Regions from separate parts of the Homo sapiens genome. Here regions 2, 3, 4 and 5 are each linked to region 1. The links are contacts of gene promoters, found by promoter capture Hi-C in human tissues and cell types (Jung and others, 2019). All regions are on one chromosome and are shown on one strand. The core of a region is centred on a gene start or on the middle of the fragment in contact, and the rest is flanking DNA. Distances in the headings are between cores, read along the strand shown.

Evidence for each region. The method cuts DNA at HindIII sites, captures the fragments that hold promoters and counts their contacts. A contact is called where the count stands out against the background at its distance.
Region 2: a fragment that was not itself captured here is called in contact with the fragment with the promoter of SMOC2 in region 1 in 2 of the 25 tissues and cell types used here (H1 embryonic stem cells and dorsolateral prefrontal cortex).
Region 3: a contact is called between a fragment that was not itself captured here and the fragment with the promoter of SMOC2 in region 1, in 3 of the 25 tissues and cell types used here (H1 embryonic stem cells, aorta and heart right ventricle).
Region 4: a contact is called between a fragment that was not itself captured here and the fragment with the promoter of SMOC2 in region 1, in 3 of the 25 tissues and cell types used here (bladder, dorsolateral prefrontal cortex and mesendoderm cells).
Region 5: a fragment that was not itself captured here is called in contact with the fragment with the promoter of SMOC2 in region 1 in 1 of the 25 tissues and cell types used here (H1 embryonic stem cells).

The regions. Positions count from the first base shown.
Region 1 is chr6:168,439,798-168,442,507 of GRCh38, forward strand. It overlaps SMOC2 (SPARC related modular calcium binding 2), which reads left to right and starts at 1,387. Exons shown (of 13, transcript NM_001166412.2): 1 at 1,387-1,657. The coding sequence starts at 1,574. The HindIII fragment of the contact is 15,076 bases long and covers 1-2,710 here.
Region 2 is chr6:168,861,274-168,863,983 of GRCh38, forward strand. LOC105378144 (a long non-coding RNA gene) reads left to right here. Exons shown (of 2, transcript XR_943297.2): 2 at 1-1,193. Among named protein-coding and RNA genes, the nearest start is that of LINC01615, 300 kb to the right of the region's middle. The HindIII fragment of the contact is 6,663 bases long and covers 1-2,710 here.
Region 3 is chr6:168,806,979-168,809,688 of GRCh38, forward strand. No RefSeq gene overlaps it. Among named protein-coding and RNA genes, the nearest start is that of LINC01615, 350 kb to the right of the region's middle. The HindIII fragment of the contact is 4,095 bases long and covers 1-2,710 here.
Region 4 is chr6:168,789,239-168,791,948 of GRCh38, forward strand. No RefSeq gene overlaps it. Among named protein-coding and RNA genes, the nearest start is that of SMOC2, 350 kb to the left of the region's middle. The HindIII fragment of the contact is 7,957 bases long and covers 1-2,710 here.
Region 5 is chr6:168,167,141-168,169,850 of GRCh38, forward strand. No RefSeq gene overlaps it. Among named protein-coding and RNA genes, the nearest start is that of FRMD1, 89 kb to the left of the region's middle. RefSeq lists an enhancer at 1,149-2,348. The HindIII fragment of the contact is 3,232 bases long and covers 1-2,710 here.

The DNA of each region.
Region 1 (2,710 bases), core at 137-2,636:
TCCCTCAAGAGTTTTATTATAATTTCCTTCTAAGTCCTTAAACCAGGAGGAATGTGTTTAAGTGCTTAATAGATTCCCTGGGCTTTGGAATTTTAAGGAGAATTCTGAGAGTAGCCCTCCTTCAGGAAAAGGTGCATTTCTTTCCCGTCTTTCCGTGGCCCGACGGACATCACTTTCCTGATAAAATTGTGTGGGAAAGGTTGCAATAGCATTGCCTTTGCCTCAGCAGCCAGTCCCAGAACTTGCTGATACAGCCCCCTCCCCCAAAGTTCATAGCCAAAGCAGTGGGCTAGACATCGGATGAAACCTCAGATTTGGATTTTCTGTGTTTTGTGCTTTTCCCAATGCCCCTGACAAGTCAATTGATTCATTGTTCTTGAACAAATCTTCACTCTTCTGGCTTTCTGTGTGAGACAGAATTAGGGCTTTTTCCTGTAAAGTTATAAGCCAAGGCTAAACTATGTCAGCAATGTTGTCTGCAGTGGATATTATCCAGAGTCTGGGTGTGCAAAAATTTCCTGGTTTCCAACGTAGTCTTCGTGGGTGAGTTTACAACCTCCACAAGCCCTGTGCTCCCCGCACAAACACCTGAAATGCTTTGACAGAGCTGTTTAAAAACAGCCACATGTGTCTGTGAATGATGCCCAACCACATGCTCCCCCGACTTGAGAGGATCAAGGCTACAGCCCAGGTCAGACCCCGGATCTTTAGGACCTAAATTCCCCCATCCCTGCAGTGGATAACCCCGTGTAAAGATGCCAAAGGCGGGCTGCCCCCGGCGCAGCCTTTCCTGGACATGTGTTCCCAGCTGCCTTTGCTGGAGCGCCGCTGATCCTTCAGCACCTCTGAGAGGCAATGTTCTGGGCTGGACCAGGGGGCCTTAGAGGGCAGAGGTCAAGGAGAACCCCGGAGTCTGGGGACCGGCCAAGGCTTGGCGTTAACCTTTGTGGATGAAAAGTCCCGCTGGGCTGATCCTGCGCGGACCGGGCCTGGACCCTGGGGCGTGAGGAGGGCGCGGTGCGTCCCGTGGTTGTGCTTGGAAGCCCCCCGAGGGTGCGCGCGCGTGGGTATGAGTGCGTGCGTGTGCCTGGGTGTGCGTGTGTGTAAGTGTGCACGTGTGTGTGTGAGAGTGCGCGCGGGGAAGGAGGCACAGAGACAGCCCGGACAGGCCACTGCGCAGCCCTGGTGGCCCCCGCTCCACCTCTCGCTCCGCAGACCCGCGCCAGGGAGGCCTCTGGGCCGCAGCGGGCACCGGAGCGGAGCGGGCGCGGCAGCGGGCGCTGGGAGGTGGGGCTGGGGGAGGAGAGGGGGAGGGAGAGAGGCGGGCGGGAGGGGAGGATCCGGGAAGCTCCGGGGTATTTGACAGGAGCGAGGGCGGACGCAAAGAACGCGGAGGACCTCTGGGTGCCTGCAGGGGAGCTGCTCCAGCCGGGCCGCCGGGAGCGGTGGGGAGAGCATCGCGGAGCCGCCCCTCCACGCGCCCGCCCAGCCGCGCTCGCCCACTGGGCTCTCCCGGCTGCAGTGCCAGGGCGCAGGACGCGGCCGATCTCCCGCTCCCGCCACCTCCGCCACCATGCTGCTCCCCCAGCTCTGCTGGCTGCCGCTGCTCGCTGGGCTGCTCCCGCCGGTGCCCGCTCAGAAGTTCTCGGCGCTCACGGTAAGCCCGGGCCCGCGGGACCTGGAGCTCAAGTGGTGCCGCCTCTTGCAGCCGGCCGGGTTCGGGTCCCCGCGCCCCGCTCCAGGCCCAGGCGCCTGGGCACGGGGAGCAGGTGGCCCCGGGGGCCGTGGAGCCTTCGCCTGCCGGCGAGGCTGGAGCAGGTAGGACGCAGCGTGCGCGCCTGGGACCCGGCTGGGATGGGCTTCTGGGGACCCTGCCCGCCGGGGTCCTGCTGCGGCTGCGACGGGCTCCTCGGGTTCCACCCGGCTGGGACCCCACCTGCCTCGGGGGCTCTGACCCGGCTGTGAGAGGATCCTGGGGTCCTGCAGACCCCGGACAAGTGGGAGCTGCGGGTGCGCTCGGGTGTCCCGCACTCACTGCTGGGCCTGAGCCTGTGGGGAACCAGGTCTGGGAGCGCCGGCGCCGCCCCGCGGACTGTCCCAAGGCCAAGACAGACCCGCCGGGACTGGGCGCCCACCTCGCCCACGGGGACCCGGCCTGGAGCGTGTTCTCCCGACCGCTTTGGGCTCGTGCGCCGCGCGGATCCCGGGCCTCTCGCCGGCTGAAGGGGCTGCCAGTCGTGGGCCCCACTCGTGGGTCTGACTCTCCCAGAGACCCTCGTAAGTGAGCCGAGGAAGAAGCAGATGAGGTTACAGATGATTCTTCACGGGCCTGAGTGTTATTAGAGAAGCGCTTTCTTCCCTTCTCAGGACAGAACTGGAGGCAGGCGGCGGCTCCCCGCTCTGCGGGGCCTCTGGGTTCTTCCTCGTGGCAGGGATGCTGCGCTCCTGAGCGCGAGGGTCACCGCGGTTGACCGCTGTGTGTTTTTCTTTCTGAGCTGTAACTTCTATGCGACAGCCTTGGCCCGGCCAACGCACGCGGTGTCAAACGAGGAGCTATGTAGAGGGGGCTGAGCCAAGCCCCCGCCGGCCAAGCCAACCCGCGGCGGCCGCTGGGCCAAGGCCGGGTGTCTGCAGCCCCCAGCTCCAGCCGTCCTCCTGGGCTTGCAGGGTTTGCAAACCCATCATTAATGCAATCGCCAGAAACGAAAAC
Region 2 (2,710 bases), core at 114-2,613, 420 kb after region 1:
CATTCGCCCCGGTCATTTCCGGAGCGTCTTCCAGCCCGTTCCCCGCCATGACAGCGACGTGTGCTTTGAGCTCAGTCCACAGCAAAGACCACCTTGGTTCTTGTCCCGCCGCAACCACATCCGAAGAAAGGGGTCAGGTATTCTAGGCGTACGGGGACTGATAAATTCCAAAAATATGTTGCCTAGAAAAGATTGTTAAAAATATAAAGGCAAGTTTTATTCATTAATGTTCCCTTGCGCTGTCTGTGAAGAAAGGTAGGTTAAAGAGGTACTTCGAAGCAAATCTGTACCAGGAAAATAGAATTTGTTTTCACATCTTTTGAAAGATAAGTGAAATTCCTTCAGAGTCCACACCCATGCTTTTATAAACCTCTGATACACTAACAAATCCAAAGAAAAATTGAAAACAAGCGAGAAAAAGGAGACAGAAAATGCACAAGATACACCGCCCTTTTTGTTTGTTTGTGATTCAGGGCTCAGGATTGACTGGGTCCTCGGGAGGGGACTCGAGGGCAGAAGGATCTATTAATCTTACAACTATGTGTTTCATTTTCCAAGTGGTCAGTTTTTTAGGTTACTTTATGAAAAACTGAAATGGAACACAGAATATGAACAATTTCTCAGGGTAAGAGCAGCTAGATGTAAAAATAACATAATGCAATTAAAGAAGAAATCTTCCAGCAAATAGAACCCCATTTCGGGGATTTTCACCGTGGGCGTGAGGGTCACACAAGACTGAAGCCCGCCCAGGAGCAGGCGAGGTCACTGCAGGTGGTCAGTTACAGAGCTCTGCGTCATAGCCCTCTGGCCCCAGACAAAATTCACTCATCTATACATTTGCTTGAAAATGCATTATTTGATATTCATTTTGTATACTTAAATACAAAATGAAATGTAACCTGATATTGAAAATAAAAACTCCAGGCAACGTCTACATTTCTATGTATTTAGTCTTTTCAAGGTCTACATTTTAAAAGCAAGAAATGAACAAAGTTAGGAATACATTATTACTCTGGCAGGAAAATTAGACGGATTGATGAAGTGGGTTCTGTCTATTGTTATTTATCCTACTAGAAATTAAACTAAAAAAACTTAAAATGTTTTTATTCTTTAATTAAAAGCACAATAGTAAATCCATTACATGCCAACATAAATAACGTGTAATGAAAAATAAATGTAATTTTTGAACCAAACCATCTTGACTGACAAGAGTGCTATACTTTCTATTGCAAATCCAGTGTCTGACTTCCCGGAAGGCAGCCAGAGTCTGAGGCCACTCCCGCACTCCATCTGTGTGGGTTTGAAGTGTGCAGTGAATACTCAGTGTCACTCCCAAATGTATTAGGAAAGAGGAGATTATTTTAATAACCTTTCCTAGGTAATTGTGGTGATTCTTTGATACCACCCCCAAGCCCCAAAGGTGGTAGCTTCTTAAAGGTGCGCTGTTGTGTGGGATCTGAGCCCTATTGCCTGGGCATGCACCTGCCCCTGTGTCGGCATCCATGGGCCCGTGGCACCGCAGATGGTCTTCGCTTGCTCGTCACTTTATACCATCCCGCAGTGGAAACAATCAGCTCACTGAGTTCTGCAGATCTTCCAAATGTTGACACTTCTCACTACACAATATAAAAAGCATTTCTGTTGACCTCCCCACAGATGTCCTCAAAACACCCTTTAAGCCAGTGACAGGCTCACAGAGGGAGACACAAGGTCTTTGGGATTGTCACTTTCATAGTGATGCTTGAATTTTTATCATAGGCAACAAAAACTGTCAGCCGTCATCCTTGAAATGACAGACTCCCTCATTTTTGAGAAATGTCTGCCAGTTCTAGTTCCCAAGTCTGAATGACCAGGGCTGGCAGGTCGGTCATGGTCTTAAGTAACCGTGGTGACCCATGGGAGGAACTGCCTGTGATCCCTGAGTTTCCATAGCCCTAAATTATTGTAATGACGATATCCATGGAAGACTTGTGAAATTATACAATTATAAAATGTGCAATAAAGTCAACAGGAGATTGCTCTTGGATAAGCCCAGCACAGGGAAACGTAATTTGACAGTTGATTGGCCCCCCGGTGCTTTTCTGAAAAGAAATCACCAAGGCCAGGAGGGACACGAAACGCTTCTTCGTGTGTCGGCCCGTGTGCAGAATATCTCCAAGATATAAATGACTAAGAAGACTTAATTTGCCACCACAATATGTTTGCTGCAATTAATTTGGGGTGACTTGTATTTTAGCTTGGATCAAAAATGGGATCTGAAATGTAAAGAACACTGTTAGATTTCCCCACAGGCCGCTCTCTCTTTGGGTGATTTGCTAACTTTTAATTTGCATTGATTCTCTGAAGGGATCTTAATTCAGATGTCTCTCCACCTCTTCGCTGTAGTTTTACTTGGCCTTAGTCACGTGATCTTTGGGAGGTTTTAGGGAACGTTATCTAGAAAAAGAAATCACTTTAGATATTAACAAATGCAGAAATGAATCAGTCCATTCATCATTAGGGAAAATGAATTGTTCCAGAACCCAGGATTCTATAAAGTAAAATAACACTTACTTTGGAATTGCTAAGGGGTTTAAAAACACCCACTCCATCAAGCCTGTGAGCTGAACCCCAGGCCTGCACGTATGGCGGAGTGTGTAATGCCTGTGTGTGTTTCAGAGACCACAATTCCCAGTCCCCACTCCAGGTCCTGTGCCTCCCTGGGCGCTGT
Region 3 (2,710 bases), core at 147-2,646, 370 kb after region 1:
CTGTGGATAGATACTGTCTTTTTACTTTTTTGATGGTGTCCCTTGAAGCACAAAGTTTCTAAATTTTAGTAAAATCCAAATTATCTATTTATTGTCACTGTGCTTCAGTGCTGTACCTAAGAAACCATTATCTAACTCCAGATTATGAAGGTTTACCCATGTGTTTTCTCCTGTGAGTTTTTCCAGCTTCAGTGCTTACATTTAGGTCTATTATCCATTCTTGGCTACTTTTTGATGCATGATGAGGTAGGGATATCCCTTCATTCTTTCACATTAGTAGTCGAATTTTCCCAGCACTATTTGTTAGAAAAGACAATTCTTTGCTCATTGAATTTTCTTGGCCCCCTTGTTGAAAATCGTCATAAATACGAGGATTTATTTCTGGACTGTCAAGTATATTCTATTCATGTTTTTCTGCGGGTGTCTGAGTGTCTGTTATTTTTCCTTCATTCTTTTCTTCTTTCTGCTCCTAAAATGAGATACTACGTGTTGACTTAAATGCAAGTTCTCCAGTTTTTTCTTCTACTGACTCAGATCTGTTGTTAAGACCCTCTAGGGATGTTTTATTTCACCTATCACAGTTTTCAACTCACTCCAGAACTTCTATTTGATTCTTTTAAAACAGTTTCTATTTATTAATGTTCTCTTTTTGGAAATATATCATTGTAATCTTTTAAAAATTCTTTAGACAGAGTTTCTTTTGGTGCTCGTACATATTTATAATAACTGCTGTAAAGCCTGTGCCTATTTAGTCTAAAATCTGGGTGCATTTAGAAACATTTTCTGTTGGCTGCTTTTTATCCTCTGTGTGTGGCATACTCCTGTTTATTTACATATCTTGTAAATTTTATTGAAAACTGAACATTTCAGATAATAATATATTGAGGCGATTCTAGTATCAGATTTCTCTACACACACCCAAATGTTTCTTGCTGTTGCAGAGTTTTGCTGTGTTGTTAGATTTGTTTTCATTTCCTTTGTGGCTAGTTGTCTGTTTAGTGACTTGGCCTGACTACTTTTGCAGAGCTCTAACCCCTGCCACGGGTGTCTAACCTTTGGGCTTCCCTGAGCCACACATAAAATACACGAATACTAGCCATAGCTGATGAGCTTAAAAAAAATGGTTTGTGCATGATTTTCATGATATCCACCACCGCAAATAAGCAAACAAGTCCTTATATTCAAAGGGTTGGACATCCGTGCCTACAGCATGTGGACACTGAGCTCCCAGCCTTTTGTTAAAGCTTTTCATTTCATTTTTAAGCTTGGCTTTCTAAGATTTATATCTAGGCCAGTGTAATTTAGTGATCAATCAACGATGGGTCAGTTTTCTGGCATGACTTCCATGTACATTTGGGCCATCTCTGCGAGAAGGCTTTGCCTTCCATTGTCAGGCAGTTTATGAGACAGCCTTTGCTTTTACCTTCTGCTTGCACAGGGCCTCGAGGTCAGCCAGGGGTGAGGGGCTCCTGCCTTCTTCCTCCCCAGAGCTGTCCTAGGAGTGCCCGCAGTCTGGCAGACATGCTCGGCCTTGCAGGCACCCAGCTCTCCTATGTTCATACGTATCCAGGATTTCCCTTTAAATTTCTGGTCAGTTTAAATTTCTGCTCTCAGTTTGCCCCAACTGAAGTCTATTTCTATTGCTTTGGTAATGCTTTTAGGTTCTCCATTCTGTCCTCTCAACCCCAGACACCCCCAACTGAGCTAAGAGTCAAGTGTAACAGCCCCACACTGAATATAGAGATTTCCCAGGGAGCTGCAAGTTCCTGTGAAATATTGACTATGTTCTGGGCATGTTGTTTTTAATGGAATATTGAAATTGGTAACATTTCTTTACCAGCTTTTGACTACCACAAATGGGCTAAGGAGGGAGGAAAAATGAATGTAGCCCCAAATTAAAGTTCTGGGGTCCTGATCCAGACCCCAGGAGAGGGTTCTTGGATCTCACACAAGAAGGAATTCAGGGTGAGTCCACAGTGCAGAGTAAAAAAGGATGAGTTCATGTCCTTTGCAGAGACATGGATGAAGCTGGAAACCATCATTCTCAGCAAACTAACACAGGAACAAAAAACCAAACACCGCATGTTCTCACTCATAAACGGGAGTTGAACAATGAGAACACATGGACACAAGGAGGGGAACATCACACACTGGGGCCTGTCACAGGGTGGGGAGCTAGGGGAGGGAGAGCATTAGGAGAAATACCTAATGTAGATGACGGGTTGATGGGTCAGCAAACCACCATGGCACGTGTATACCTATGTAACAAACCTGCACGTTCTGCACATGTATCCTGGAACTTAAAGTATTATAATAATAATAATAATAATAATAATAATAATAATAATAAAGCAAGTTTATGAAGAAAGTAAAGGAATAAAAGAATGGCTACTCCATAGACAGAGCAGCCCCAAGAGCTGCTGGTTGCCCATTTTTATGGCTATTTCTTGATGATATGCTAAACAAGGGGTGGATTATTCCTATCTCCTCTTTTTAAACCATTAGGGTAACTTCCTGACATTGTCATGGTACTTGTAAACTGTCATGGCGCTGGTGGGAGTGTAGCAGTGAGGACAGCCAGAGGTCACTCTTGTTGCCATTTTGGATTTGGTGGGTTTTGGCCGGCTCCTTTACTGCAACCTGTTTTATCAGCAAGGTCTTTGTGGTCTGTATTTTGTGCTGACCTCTTATTTCATCCTGTGACTTAGAA
Region 4 (2,710 bases), core at 119-2,618, 350 kb after region 1:
TATAAAGAGGAAGGCAGGCGTGTCAGTGACGTAGCCAGGGAATCAGAGGCCAGCGCGGTACGATTGCTGTGCTGAGGATGGAGGAAGGGGCCAGGAGCTGAGGAACGCGGCAGTCTCCGCTGGCTGGAAAGGTGGGAAAGAGACCCTGTCCTGGAGCTCCAGGAGGAAGCAGCCCTGCCCACACCTTGATGGTGGTCCCCCAGACTCACCTGGACTTCTGACTTCCAGACATGGCGCATGTGGAGATTTGTGAGGCAGCGCTGGGAGATGGATGCACACTCCTTCTGCCTGGTGTGACAAGTGCATGCGGGGCTGTTTCAGCTGTGAAGGTGAGCCACGGGGGCAGCTGATGCTCCCTGCAATTACGCTGCAATCTTTCTCCACCCTGCTCCTTACACACCCTCTCTTTTCTGTGGCAAAAGCTCCAAGCCTCCCAGAGACGCTGTGGTTAAGTTAGTGAGCTTCTCATTGCTGTTCCTCCTCTGAGCGCATAGCTTACCCCTCTCAGGTAACTCTCTCACTTTCCCATCTGTCACCAACTGACTCCTGATAGTTTGTTGAAGTTGGTCTCTAGGATCTCCTCCCACTTTTTGCCAGATTTCCAGCCTTGAGCCTCCCACATGGCCCCTTGCACGAGGGGCAAAGGAGGAGCTTGCAAACGCCAGATGGAGGCATTTAATTGCCACACAGTGCTCCTGAGAAAGAGCCACTGCCCTTGCTTGCAGCCTGTGGCCACATTTGAGGTGGGACTGTCATCAGCCGAGTCCTGGAGTGCAGGGACATAGGACAGAGGCCGCAGCAGCCCCGATGACACGGCATCCAGGAGGAATCGCGTTCACTGCCTCGAGCCACTATGATTTCCAGGGCTTTTTGCAACCATAGCCTGTCCCATATTTTCCTGACTGATGCAGAAATTGATACTAAAAATGGGTCCTGCCACGGCAAGAACCCAGGGTGCTCAAACCAGAAGTAAGGAGCCTGGTGAGGGTGTGTGTGGAAACTGAGGGGTGCATCTTCCAAGGAGGGGCCTCAGCCTTCCTGAGTCCAGGGGCAGAGGAGAGCCTCAGGGCCCTCTTCAACTCTGTGTCTTCTCTTCGTTCTTATAGATTAGTGACTTTTTGTTTATCTGTCACTGTGATTTTAGTGTATACTGCAAGAATGGGTAGATATGGGTATTCAGTTTAGCATGTGATATGGTTTGGATCTGTGTCCCCACCCAATCTCATGTTGAACTGTAATGCCCAGTGCTGGAGGTGGGGGCCGGTGGGAGGTGACTGGACCCTGGGGAGAAGTTCTCATGAAAGGGTAGCACCATCTCATGTCAATCTGTAATACCCAGTGCTGGAGGTGGGGGCGATGGGAAGTGACCACTAGAATCTTTATAAAGAGGAAGGCAGAAGGGGAGAAGTTCTCACGAAGGGGCGGCAACATCTGCCTTGGTGCTGTTCTCGTGATGGTGAGTGAGTGAGTTATCATTCTGATCTGGTTGTTTAAAAGTGTGTGGCACCTCCCCCACCCCTCCTCTACCTTTTTCTTGCTCCTTCTTTTGCCACGTAAGACACACCTGCTCCGCCTTCACCTTCCACCATGATTGAGAGTTTCCTGAGGCCTCACAGAAGCTGAGCATAGGCCAGCGCCATGCTTCCTGTACAGCCTGCGGAACTGTGAGCCAATTAAACCTGATTTCTTTATAAATCACCCAGCCTCAGGTGTTTCTTCACAGCAGTGTGAGAACGGACGAGAACGCCATGTTTAAGCGGAAATTATCAAGGAATTACTGCTTCCGGGAGAGAAGCAGTAGGACTGGGCACTGGCAGCCACTTTGGGGGACTGGTGACGAGGCAGCGTGGGGCTGCAGGGAGGACACATTCCCCAGCTGGAGCCTCATGATGGTCAGGGTGAGTTCGCAGGGCCACTGTCACCAAGGCAAGGTGAGCCCACAACATGCCTGGCAGCCCGGGCACTCTCCTGCATCTGGCACCGTCCGCCAACACAGCAGTGGGACGTCTGGGAAGGAACAGAGGCTGGAGCGAGAGAGCATGGCAGACCTATCAGTAAACCCTCTCAGGGCCACTCTTTGGTCCTTCTAGAAGGATCCAGAGAAGGAATGTGTGTGTGTGTGTGTGTTGCAGAAAAATGAAGGGCCTCCAGGCACAGGTGAGGATTAAATCTACACCTTTATAGCATTAAAATCTGTGCAATGTATCAGTAAGCACACATTCAAAAAATTATGACATTGGGTTTACACAAAATTCACTATTACTGTATTATGAATACTGATCTTTTATTATATTTTCTATTCACTAAGATATTTGTTCAAAGTATACTGTACAAACATTCTGAAAAGTGATATTTGGTGTATTTTAGGGAGAATTCTAAACCATGTTCTCATTATTCTGATGGATATTTCTTGTGGCCAGTTCACTGGAGACAGTGTCCTTTGTACACATTTACAAAGCTTTTAAGAAGTACAATTGTGCAAAGATACGCCAAAACTTTTACTTTTCTGACAATAAAATAAAGATTTTGTATTGCAATTATTGGTCAAAATAGTAAAATGTGGTTGTTCACCATTGAGTCAAGGACAGGAGTTGGACTAAGAGGCACGATGGCACCAAATAAAGAGATTTGCCACGTGGAATTTGTGAAAGAAAATTATGTTTAATATACCAACTAAATAGCAATATAACATTAACTTTATGAGAGTACA
Region 5 (2,710 bases), core at 145-2,644, 270 kb before region 1:
ACCTGAGACTGGGTAATTTATAAACACATGACTCACAGTTCTGAATGGCTGGGGAGGCCTCAGGAAACTTACAATCATGGCAGAAAGCACCTCTTCACAAGGTGGCAGGAGAGAGAGTGTGCAGGGGAAATGCCAGACACTTATGAAACAACCAGATCTCATGAGAACTCCCTCACTATCATGAGAAAAGAAAGGGAAAAACCGCCCACATGATCCAATCACCACCCCCAGGCCCCTCCCTTGACACATGGTGATTACAATTCAAGATGAGATTTGTGTGGGGACACAGAGCCAAACCATATCACCATTTTAATAAAACAGCCAAATGAATTGTCCAGCCTTGTGGAGAGGAAGGGAGAGGCCACCTCACAGAGACCTTTCTCCTTAAACTCAGCTAGGATATCCCAGGACAGAGGGTCATAGAGTAGCCGAGCCAGCGGGAATCAGAATCAGGATGAGATACATGCGGTGCGCTGGGGGCAGGTGCAGGGGAGGTGAGTGTGCTGGGGTGAGTGCTCTGGAAGTGAGTTAGAAAGCATTTCCAGGGACATTCCACCCAGCCTCCACCTGTCAGGTGGGCCATTCAGGTCCCAGATGGAGTCACATTAGCGTATCCATTCTCTCTTGCATGGCTTCTAAAGGCAGCGACGAGGGGGGTGATGATCAGTCCAACAATTGTAGGAACAGAACGATAACCCACATATTAATGGAGCTCTTCCAGGGAACCCGAGGCTGAGCCCCAGGGAAGCAATGGTGATGTCCTGGCTGCTGTGGTTGTGCAGTCTAATGGGAGGAGACATTCTAGACAAATTGTCAAAGCTCAGTACATAGAGGATGAGTAACAGGGGCAGCCTCCCTCCAGGGGTGACAGGGGCTGTGTGTGAGGGATAGGAGGTTGCTATGCGGGGGTGCAGGAGGATGGGCTGGGCTGGGTCATCCTGGGGTGGGAAGGGACAGAGCATCTGAGGAACAGAGATGAGGCCAGTGAAGCAGCCAGCAGCAAGGGGCGGGACAGCCAGGGGCAGGACGTGCCACCAGAGCTGTAGGCAGGAGACCAGCCTCAGGGGACCCAGGGGGGTTCACTGAAGGGCTGATTTTCATTGAGAAGGCATTGGGGGGACATGAACAAGCCTCTGTACAGAAAGTTTACTCTTCCTACAACATGGGAAATGGATTTGAGAGGGTTCAGCTGGGACCTTGAGGCCTGGGGAGCTGCTGCGGTGGCTGCAGCGTGGCCCTGGAGCTGGAGAGTGGGGGCAGATTTGAGGGAGGCCTAGGAAGTGAAGTCCAGAGGACCTGGGGATTGACGAGTCACGGGGGTGAGAGAATGTAAGCTCCACAAAGACGATGATTTTGTCGATATTCTTAGCTTTTGTATCTGCAAAGCTTGTATAAGGGTTGCTCATAGAAAGCGCTGAATACAGTCATTAAGCGAGGGACTTCCTGAATACAGTCATTAAGCGGGGGACTTCCTGAATACAGTCATTAAGCGGGGGACTTCCTGAATAGTCATTAAGCGGGGGACTTCCTGAATACAGTCATTAAGCGGGGGACTTCCTGAATACAGTCATTAAGCGGGGGACTTCCTGAATACAGTCATTAAGCGGGGGACTTCCTGAACACAGTCATTAAGCGGGGGACTTCCTGAATACAGTCATTAAGCGGGGGACTTCCTGAATACAGTCATTAAGCGGGGGACTTCCTGAATACAGTCATTAAGCGGGGGACTTCCTGAATAGTCATTAAGCGGGGGACTTCCTGAATACAGTCATTAAGCGGGGGACTTCCTGAATACAGTCATTAAGCGGGGGACTTCCTGAATACAGTCATTAAGCGGGGGACTTCCTGAACACAGTCATTAAGCGGGGGACTTCCTGAATACAGTCATTAAGCGGGGGACTTCCTGAATACAGTCATTAAGCGGGGGACTTTCTGTGTCGCTCATCAAGGCTGATGCTCAGGCTTTAGCCTGCACTGCTAGGGCGTGGCTGTGTCACCCACTGAGGCATACGGCACAGGACAAGGACTGAAATGGGAAACTGAATCCACGTGGGGCATTGCCCATTACAGAGCAAGGTGTTCCAGCAGAGACTTCCCAGAGCCAAGTCTGGCACAGATGTCGCTTCTCCATGCAAAGTTCCCTACACCCCAGGTCGATGTAGCCTTTTGTAGCTTGGCTCTCAGGACACCGGTCCACATTACTCCTGTGGTTACAATCACACTTTGCTTTATCACATTTCAACACTGAGCAATGAATGTGAGCAGGTGAGATTGCTGGATGTTTGCATTACAGCCTGGGAGGAAGAAGAACAGGAGGGCAGAGTGTGGTGCACTTACAAAATATTCGCCTCGGTGGAGGAAATGTGTGCTAAGAAAAAGATCCTCATTTTGGAAAAGCTTAACTGCTTTAATGAAGTAAATGTAAAGTTTTCTTCAGGTGAACGTTAAGATTCACTGACTTAAAAATAAAGCTTCGGCAGGGCCAGTGTGTGTCCTCTGTCCCCATGAACCACTCTGTCTCAGGAAAATGAATTCCACGTGGGATGAGTGGTGTGTTGGTGATTTTCCACGAGGGTTGAGTGGCGTGTTGGTGATTTTCCACGTGGGTTGAGTGGCGTGTTGGTGATTTTCCACGTGGGTTGAATGGCGTGTTGGTGATTCTCGCATGTTTTGGGGGTGTTTATGGCCTGCGATTTTTCTGCAGAATCCC